Regions from separate parts of the Homo sapiens genome. Here regions 1 and 3 are each linked to region 2. The links are contacts of gene promoters, found by promoter capture Hi-C in human tissues and cell types (Jung and others, 2019). All regions are on one chromosome and are shown on one strand. Each heading gives the region's core, a stretch centred on a gene start or on the middle of the fragment in contact. The rest is flanking DNA. Distances are from core to core; before and after follow the strand shown. Region 1 overlaps LINC03154 (long intergenic non-protein coding RNA 3154). Region 2 holds the start of PARK7 (Parkinsonism associated deglycase). Region 3 overlaps RERE (arginine-glutamic acid dipeptide repeats).

Evidence for each region. Contacts are between HindIII fragments. The study calls those that stand out against the background at their distance.
Region 1: a fragment that was not itself captured here is called in contact with the fragment with the promoter of PARK7 in region 2 in 2 of the 25 tissues and cell types used here (heart right ventricle and mesenchymal stem cells).
Region 3: a contact is called between a fragment that was not itself captured here and the fragment with the promoter of PARK7 in region 2, in 3 of the 25 tissues and cell types used here (aorta, lymphoblastoid cells and spleen).

The regions. Positions count from the first base shown.
Region 1 is chr1:8,295,110-8,298,367 of GRCh38, reverse strand. LINC03154 (long intergenic non-protein coding RNA 3154) reads right to left here. Exons shown (of 2, transcript XR_007065454.1): 2 at 1,919-3,258. Among named protein-coding and RNA genes, the nearest start is that of SLC45A1, 21 kb to the left of the region's middle. The HindIII fragment of the contact is 7,461 bases long and covers 1-3,258 here.
Region 2 is chr1:7,960,377-7,963,680 of GRCh38, reverse strand. PARK7 (Parkinsonism associated deglycase) reads right to left here and starts at 1,970. Exons shown (of 7, transcript NM_007262.5): 1 at 1,888-1,970; 2 at 806-918. The coding sequence starts at 895. RefSeq lists enhancers at 1,530-1,589, 1,640-1,689, 1,890-1,939, 1,335-2,118, 2,320-2,419 and 1 more and a silencer at 2,070-2,169. The HindIII fragment of the contact is 29,789 bases long and covers 1-3,304 here.
Region 3 is chr1:8,453,858-8,457,283 of GRCh38, reverse strand. All of the region lies in intron 11 of RERE (arginine-glutamic acid dipeptide repeats), which reads left to right. Among named protein-coding and RNA genes, the nearest start is that of RERE-AS1, 31 kb to the right of the region's middle. The HindIII fragment of the contact is 5,753 bases long and covers 1-3,426 here.

The sequences.
Region 1 (3,258 bases), core at 407-2,906, 340 kb before region 2:
CTACTGCAAGGGTGTTTCTTAAGACAACCATAAGTTTTTATTCTGGGGACTTGTTCAGGTATTTAAAATAATTATTAAAATTTTTTAAACTTTAATTTTTTTGCTTTATACAATTTCCAACCTTTATAGGACAATTAATTGCCACACACTTTCTGCTTCTTTCAGGTGCTGGGAACTCCTTGGCAACACACGTTTCCCATCCCTTTACCACCAACACATTTTCACGTGCAGATGTTCCAATGACAACACTCCCATTAGTTTCTACTTGTGGGGGGCCAAACCTCTTGCCTGAGTCAGACTTAGAAATAAGCAACTATATAAGCAGAGAACTGACAAGAGGGAAATTTTTGTCCACTAAGGATTCATCTTGAGCAAAGTTACTTGTCTTACACAAAGAGGGTTGAGGCTAGGTGCAGTGGCCCACACCTGTAATCCCAGCACTTTGGGAGGCTAAGGCTGGTAGATTGTGTGAGCCCAGGAGTTCAAGACCAGCCTGGGAAACATAGTGAGACCCCTATCACTACAAAAAATACAAAAATTAGCCAGGCACCGTGGCGCACACCCGTAGTAGTCCCAGCTACTGGGAGGCTGAGGTGGGAGGATCACCTGAGCCTGGGAGGTTGAGGCTGCAGTGATCCATGATTGCACCACTGCACTCCAGCTTGGATGACAGAGTACGACCCTGTCTCAAAAAAAAAAAAAAAAAAAGTTGGTTTTATGAAGCTTTGTGAATCTCCTGATAGGCCTTAGTACAATTAAACACAATGAAGACAATTGCTTTCTACTTACACGGGGCCTGGGGATTGTTTCCCATTCACTACGCCATTTCTTCTTCCTGGGTGCACAGGAAGACTCCGTTTCCCAGTAGCCCTTGCTAGGGTGAGATCATGTGACTGAGTTCTTGCCAATATGGATGTGAGTGGAAGTGATGGTTGCTATCAGTTCAACGTGTTAGAGCAGGTGTGAGCTCTTCACACTTTTGCTCTCTCATCAGGGGCTGTTAGCAAATAACTTCCAGATGGCAGATCTGTGAGAGGGAAGCATACTGGATTCCTGAGTTGCTGCAGGAGGAGAGCCACCTGACCTCTGAACTCAAGGGAGCCACTTTTTGTGTTTGCCCCCTGAGCTTTGGGGATTACTTGTGCCCTTGGCCCACCCTGATTAACAGAACACACTTCTGCGATACTACATTCTCAGAGGGGTTACGGGACCTTAGATATCTGAGCCCTGCACTGTGTCCCTAGAGACCTCATTCTGGGCTGCGTCAATCTATTAATCAATAATCAAGGAGTATAATCATTCTTGGAAGCATCTCATTAATGTGGGAGATTAGGATGCATTTCTCATGAAGTTAAGAGCTCTCCTTTGAAACTCAATCAGTAAGTAGGTACCCAGTTCCCCTCTTTGGCCAGCTCACAGTGTCCATTTCAGACCCAAAAATGAATTCAAGGTGTCAGAGGCATTCAAACTAGAGCAACTCCATCTTGAACAGGAGCTGGGTAAAATAAGGCTGAGACCTACTGGGCTGCATTCCCAGGAGGTTAAGGCATCCTTAGTTACAGGATGAGATAGGAGGTTGGCACAAGATACAGGTCACAAAGACCTTCCTGATAAAATAGCATGTTGTAAAGAAGCTGGCCGAATCCCACCAAAACCAAGATGGTGACGAAAGTGATTTCTGGTCATCCTCACGGCTCATTATATATTAATTTTTGTGCATTAGCATGCTAAGAGACCCTCCCGCCAGCGCCATGACAGTTTACAAATGCCATGGCAATGTTAGGAAGTTACCCTTCATGGTCTAAAAAGGGGAGGAACCCTTAGTCCCAGGAAATGCCCACCTCTTTCCTGGAAAACTCATGAATAACCCACCCCTTGTTTAGCACATAACCAAGAAGTAACAGTAAGTACAAGTAGCTGAGCAGTCCACGAGCAGCCATTCTTTATTCCTTTACTTTCCTAATAAACTTGATTTCACTTTACTGTATGGACTCACCCCGAATTCTTTTTTGTGTGATATCCAAGAACCTTCTCTTGGGGTCTGGATTGGGACCCTTTTCTGGTAACAAAGGGAAGAGAATCAGAACGCTACCTCACTCCGAGTCGTGAACACGAGAAGAGCTTGCTATCTATCATGACTGATATTTTTTATCATGGTGTGAATAATTGGCCACTATTAGTCAAAACACTCCCCAAAAGCAAGAGGCTCTCAGCTGAGAATGCTCACCCCTTCTCCAAATGCACTAATCAGACAGCTCGCTCCTCAGCCTGTGGGGCCACCATGAGGCCCCTCCCAAAATACCCATCGCTGTTCTCCCTGAGGAGCCCCAGGGCTGCTGTAGATTTGTTCTCTATAAGACTCTGAAATGGGTAAAAATAATACTTATTAAAATAATTCCAAAAGCATTTTAAACCTTTGATTAAGAAAACAAGTGATTTTCTACATTCCCATGATAACTATTTCAATATTATTATATGTAATATATTATTTCAATATAGCTGATCAGAGTCCTTGCACTGACATTAAATGACAACACAGAGACACATGGGCTTGATGGCGGGCACCTGTAATCCCAGCTACTTGGGAGACTGAGGCAGGAGAATCGCTTGAACCCAGGAAGCAGAGGTTGCAGTGAGCCGAGACAGTGCCACTGCACTCCAGCCTGGGCAACAAGAGTAGGACTCTGTCTAAAAAAAAAAAAAAAAAGAAAGAAAGTTCCTAGAAGCAGGACCATGCAGGGCAGGTGCCAGGGTGTTCGTGGAAGGGGCTGTTGGGGGAGAACCTTCTTGCACTCTGTGGCACCGGGGTGCCCAGCAGTCTCTGCTATCTGCCCAGCATCCAAGGCCTGTGGCCTTCAACTCATTTTGGAGAGGCTTCCCAGCAGCAGCTGTGCCTGACGGTACTTGGGTGGAGTCTCCACCTCTGAATTCTGTCACCTTTTCAGAAAGTGACAGTTTTGAACAGTTTTGCCTTTTTGTAAAGTGTAGGCAATTATAATGGTGATACCAACATACACAGTTTGAGCGGCCCCTCTCTCCCTCTCTCCCAAGCTCCATGATGAACATTTCTAGGCCCTTTGTGGGCCTCCTCACCACACTCAATGGAGGAGGGCAAGCTGGGGTTCATCTTGCCAGGCTCAGCTCAGTTCCCCTCCTTGGGGTCTGCCCTGGCTCTGCTCTCTTCAGGTTCCTACCCACAGCTCAATTATTCAGCCTCACAGAACAGGTCTTCTTTCTCCTCTCTGCTTTCCTGGGTAG
Region 2 (3,304 bases), core at 721-3,220:
CTGAGGGGCCGGGCATGGTGGCTCCTGCCTGTAATCCCAGCACTGTAAAAGGCTAAGGCGGGCGGGTCACTTGAAGCCAGGAGTTCGAGACCAACCTGGCCAACATGGTGAAACCCCATCTGTACTAAAAATACAATTAGCCGGGCGTGGTGGCGGACACCTGTAATCCCAGCTGAGGGTGAGGCAGGAGAATCTCTTGAACCCGGGAGGCAGAGGTTGCAGCGAGCAGAGATCACACCACTGCGTTCCAGGCTGAGCGACACAGAGAGACACCATCTCAAAAAAAAAAAAAAAGAAGAAAAAAGAAATGGGTCTAAGGACAGTGCAGTGGCTCACGCCTGTAGTCCTAACACTTTGGGAGGCCTGAGGCGGGTGGACAACTTGAGCTCAGGAGTTGGAGAGCAGCCTGGGCAACATGGCAAAACCCTGTCTCTACAAAACATACAAAAATTAGCCAGGTGTGGTGGCACGCATCTGTAGTCTCAGCTATTTGGGAGGCTGAGGTGGGAAGATGGTTTGGGCCCAGGAGGCAGAGACCGAAATGAGCCAAGATCCTGCCATCGCACTCCAGCCTGGACGACAGAGCTCAAAACAAAAGAGAAATGGGTCTGAAGGAAATATGGCAAGACATTAACAAGCGTTAAATGTGAGCAGTGGATCAACAGGTATTTATTCTTATGTCATCTCTGAAATTTTGTGTATATTTGAAATATTTCATAGAGCACTTTGAATATTTTATTCAAAATGATTTAAAAATCCAAAAACATTTAAAACAGGAATGGCTAAAAATCGATGTGGGACTTACCCCAGCTCGCCTCATGACATCTACAGGGATGACCGTCTCCATTTCCTCTGCTCCTTTAGCCAGGATGACCAGAGCTCTTTTGGAAGCCATTTTTATGTTATATGTTTACAAGCCTTAAAAAAAAAAAAAAAAAAAGATTTCAAAAAACTTTCATTGCAACCCTGAGATACCCCAAAATTTAAAGTTTAGGAGCATTTTCAAGCAGAGTAAGTACTTCCTAGGGAAACGGTTTTCATAGACAACTGAATACGAAAAAAGCAGCAGTTTAGTTATCTTAACGTTGATTTGTATAGCAGTTTTAATTGCTCTGAGATGAAAACATAATGAGGGTGCTAAAAGGTGTAGTATTGCTTAGATTTTCTTCTACCATGTTCTCTTAAATCCAACTTTAATAGTATGTTGCAAATGGGTTTTTTAAAAATACAAGTACGTGGGTCTCCTGCATTTCACACAATGCGGGGAAACAGTCTTTTTTGAAGCACTGTTTCAGAGAAACGACTAAACTGAATTTCATGGGCAAAAATTTAAATGTGGTCTTTCGCAATTAACTTGTAATTTTTTGGAGGGGATTTTTGTTTTCTTAGTTATAACTGTACTAAAAAATTGTGTGTGGGGGTCAACAGTGTTAAATGTCTGAACACTTTTTTTAATGACTGAGAAAGATGGAAATCCCCTCACTGAAGTCAACCCAACTACATCTGTCTCTCTGCGCGGAGTTCTCACTGCCAACGACAGCAGCTCAACGAGGTTCCGAATTTTTTTTAGCCTATTTACAGATTATCTGGAGGGTTTACCGTCCACGCAAAACAGAGTTTAATAAAACGGCTAGCCAGTTCCATGCCGGCGAGAGGTTAGGCAGAAGATTCTGGACGCTTCAGCGTTGCCACCACGCTGGCGGTCAGTCAAATCCAACGCCAGCGACAGGGCCCGACTGGGAGGCCGGAAGCGAGGGCGGCCCCGACCCAGGCCCCGCGCCGGTTCTGAGCCAGCGGGACACCGTCCAGCACAGGGACACCGTCCAGCACCCCCACGCCGCCCAGCGCCACGGCCCACACATGCGCCGCGCCCCCGCTGGCGCTGACCTGCACCCCGCGCCTCTTCCTGCGGACGCGGCGCCCCGGCCCGTTGGGTACCACTCACCCCACACCAGGCTGAAAATGAACGCACGCCAGCACGCACGCGCGCCGTCCGGCCTCCCTCAGCCCCACACTGCGCAGACTCACGCCGCCTTGGCCTCACGCTGCGTCACGTCCGGCCGAGTCTACCTCGGACTGAGGCGGGGGTGGCACCGGGGAGTTTCTAGCTGGACAGCCCTGGGTGAGGCGGCTCGGTCCCACATGGTACCCCCCACGAATGGCACAGTCCGGCCTGCCCCGGCGCCCGCGGGGCTTAACAGTCTCTACCGCCACCCTCCGTGAGGAGCCGGTCTCTGGAACTGCCGAGGGACTGGGGTTGTCAGAGGGGTTCCTTAGTTCGCGCTCCGTGCACGCCTGCTCCCTTTGCGTTGTTCCTTTTCTGGCGCGCCTTCCCGTTTCGCCTCTGGTCTGTTAGGACTCTGGTCCAGGCCTCCCGGACCTCTCCCCCACGCCTGGTCTCCCGATCTCGGGCGACTCTGCCGCATTTATTCACACCCGGATGTCTCAGGGGTGTGAGTTTTTTTCTCAGCATTGTTTGTTTTCTTTAACGATCCTGATGCTGCTGCACCCACAGGACTAGAGCAGTGCTGCGCACATAAGTCTAATAAGTACCAAGTTGGTCAGATGTATTTACATCATAATCTCAAGTTGTATTTATTGATATGTAAGAGACGTATGTGTTTTCTGGGTACATGTGGTATTTTGATACTTTCATATAATGTGTAATGATTAAATCAGGGTAAATGAGATCTCTATCACCTTAAACATTTGTCTTTATACTGGGAACATTCCAGTTACTCTCTTCAATAATAACATTTTAAAATATACAACAGATTACTGTTAACTATAGTCACCCTACAGAACTCTGCCAACGCTAGGTCTTATTCCCTCTTAAGGAGAGCACAGATCACCTGGTGACCATCAAGCAGGCCCCTTATCTGAGGAATTTAGAAGTAATTAGATATCCCTATTATCTAAAGTTGGCACCTGGTACCAGGTTAAATCAAAGGAAATAGTTAAAGCCCAAAATTCTTGAATGAGCTTAGAAGGATCCTGGCTAAATGAACGCAACTTGGATTGAATTTGCAAAAAATGAGACATTCGAAAAGGGACATGAAAAATCCACCGCGGCATGCTCAGTTCTCTCTTGCTGAGGCTGCACTCTTCTGCAGCGTTCTAATAAAACTTTCCTTTTTCAAACCTATATTGTTGTCGATAAATTCTTCTTACCAACCAGCAAGTCGACCACTTTCTGATGCTGGGGCTCTTGACACCTTGCCCAGCACTTCTACCAATTTTTGTACCTATTAATCACCCTGTTCATCCCCTTCTCCTGGCTACCCTTCCTGGCCTCTGGTAACCA
Region 3 (3,426 bases), core at 212-2,711, 490 kb before region 2:
GATATTGGCCTCACCACCTGAGCATGGGGCCTCAGGATCTGTCTGTCTGGCTCTGCATTCCTTGCAGAGGAGTTTGGTGTCGGTTTGGCTCTTCCTGTGATTGTTGACTGTGTGAACATGAAGATAGAATGATTCCTTCCTACTTACCAAGTTTCTCATTCAGTTCTGATTTTAGCTCACTAGTTGAAATTCATTCATTCTTTCATTCTGGAAATATTGGTAGAGCATTGACACTCTGCCAGGTGATACAGCAGTGAACAAAACAGACAAAATTCTCTGCCTTCATGGAGTTGAGATTGTAGTGGGGAAGGAGGATAGATTAAAACAGTCTTGCTAAGTGACATGTATAGTGTGTTAGTCCTGAAAAAATTAAAAGCAGGAAAGTGATAGGAAATACCAGGTAGAGGGGTTGAACTTTTTCTTAAGGTAGCCATGGAGAGTTCACTTTTGAGTAAAGACCTTAAAAAGTGAGGAAGCTAGCCTTGCAGATACATAGGGGAAGAGAATTCTGGGCCAAGGAAACAGTGCAAAGGCCCTGAGGTGGGAGCATGCCTGAGTGTGTTCCAGGAAGAGCAAAGATGCCCCGGAGTGGATGGAGAAGATGAAGTCGGAAGGCCACCAGGATCTTAGACCAGAGATGTTCACTCCTATTTTGTACCTCACAGTTAAATTACATTATCAAATTAATGAGGAATTCTTGAGGGCTGTTCTGTTTTCTCCTAACATTGTATCTCTCATAACAGTGTTTTTACGGCTTCAGTTATGTAGGACTCTGAGTCATGCATTCCTCTGACTTCTGCAGCTGCTCATTGTGTCAAGATTGAAGCGTTTTTGTTTTGTAACTGGTTTAGACAATATTTACTACATAAGTTTACTATAAATTCAGCATTTGTGAGAGGAGCTGTTTTTCCTGAGTAGGAGCAAGAAAATACCTGGAAAGAAAAGTGTACCTGCTCTACCTCTATCTTGGAGCAGTCATTACTCTTGTTATCAGCCTGTCCTGACAAATTTTAATTCAGGAAGTGAACACTGTGGAAAACTTAAAACTGTAGATGTCATGCTCTGAATTATAACACCTAATGAAAAGAGTCATCTCAAAAATCTTCCTTTCTTGAGTCAAATACCCTGGCTTTGAGACTCAGCTCAGGGGAGAGTCCCTCTAATACTGCTGTTTGACAGAAGAGGCCAGCTTCCCTTGTCGGCCGGCATTTGCTTGCTCTAGGCCTGTGGTGATTATTCTTAATGTCTGGAGGATGGATGCTACGTGCACTGACTAACTAGAATGCTGGGCCAAGCTTAATGTTCCCTAGTAGTGTTCTGATATTCTTCTTTCCCCAACACTCGTTCTTCTGAGAGGTTAGGGTGCTCACGAGGCACTTTAGAATGAGGAGTGGCCCATGACTGATGAAGGCCGGGACGTCACTGCATTTTGCAGGCCCTGCTGCACCAGGTTGGTTTGACAAGTTCATTTAGGTGCCTCCACACAAAACTAGGAAGTCTTGAGGGCAGGGTTGTAGTTTAATTCTTTTTGTATTCACAGAACCTGGCCCAGCACCTGGAGCAGGATTGATAATAAGAAAATATCATTTGAGTGGGTGGAACAGAAGAGAAACCTCACATTGCTTCAGTGCAGTGACCTCTTTGGCTGAGCTCTTGAGCTGCCACCGTCTAGGGAGAATTAATTAACTGGATGTGTCCCTGTTCTTTTCCTCTCAGTAGCTTGCTTTGGAAGGAGCAACCAACTCCTTCCAGTTTGTGGTTTTATTTTCTAAATTCCAATTAAAAAAACTCGTTCATTGCCAACATCACCTGATGTGTACTGATGATACGTGTGGTTGAGATGTTCTATTATGGGAGAATGAGTGATGGAGAAGGAAAGAGCTCAGTGGGCAGCACAGGTGAATCTGGCTGTTCTAACACACCTTCCCATACAACTCAGCACTGTTCCCCCAGTTCAGGAATCGTGCTCCCTTGTGATCTCGCCACTGCACTCCAGCCTGGGTGACAGAGCGATACCCTGTCTCTAAAAAATAAAAAATAATAATAAAAAAAGGAATCATGCTGCTAAGAACACCAGGAAGATTGTTATTCTGAAAATAGGAGGATGCCCAGAGTTGCCCTGAACAGCTTCGTCACCACTGCCCCGTGTCCCTCCTGGCTCTGCTGTCTGAGGGCTGCTGACGTCCTGGCACCTGAGCTCTCTGGGGAAGGCACAGTTACCTCCTGAAGAAGATAAGCCAGGCTCTTCTCTTTCCTATATGGAAAACTCATTTTTGGGGTGGGTTGGTGGGCAGAAGCAGGAAAAACAGGCCTGGTGGTTTGTGGAGAGAAAACTGGCCTGAGAGTCAGAGGTGTGGGTATCAGTACTCAGATTGGCTGCCACCTGTGTGGCCTCAAGAAAGTATGATCTCCCCACTCCCCTTCTTGAGTCTTCAGTTTTGTGGGGGTTTTTTTTTGTTGTTTGTTTGTTTGTTTGTTTGAAACAGAGTCTTACCCTGTCGCCCAGGCTGGAGTACAGTGGTGCGATCTTGGCTCACTGCAACCTCCACCTCCCAGGTTCAAGCGATCCTCCCGCCCCAGCCTTCCAAGTAGCTGGGATTACATCCTCACACCACCACGCCCAGCCAATTTTTGTATTTTTAGTAGAGATGAGGTTTCACCATGTTGGCCAGGCTGGTCTCGAACTTCTGACCTTGTGATCCACCTGCCTCGGCCTCCCAAAGTGCTGGCATTACAGGCGTGAGCCACCACACCCAGCAAGTCTTAAGTTTTTTTTTTTAATCTAAAAAATTATAGGAAAAGGAGAAGGAAAGGGAAGGGGAAAATTCTGAGGTGCTGGCAGCTGTGTTTGACAGGAGGTCAGGATTAAGCCCATCTTGGTCTGCTGCCTGCCCCATCCTTTCACTTCCCAGGTGAAAAATTGGCCACATGATTTATCTAAAGCTAACAGAGTCATTCCTGTTTAAGAAATTTGAAAACACACGTGTACACATGCATGTGTGCGTACACACACACACAGTGTCCTTTTGTTACTGAAAGTTCTGGGATCTCCCTTGAAGCTGATTTGTAAGTTTTGATCATACTTTTATTTTTCTAAGCTTTGCCATTGACAGTAATGAAACCAAATCTCCTAGGCTACAGAGATGCAGGCTAATGAGTACCATAGACTCCACCAGAGTGGGAGGAAGGATGGCCCATCACTGCAGCCATGCTCTGTGCTCTTCTGTCCCTTGTGCTCCCCTCAACAGCAGCTTGGAGTCTTCTCTGGGAGCCACTGTTTAATATTAAAATCTGTGGAGGTGTCACACATTTGCTAATAAACTGTTTTCCAAACAGACATGTTCATCCTAAATATTACTCATTTTCTTTTTTCAGATAGGGCCTCTAATTAATTAGGGTGACAGAGCTAAGTAAGCTTGGTTATCC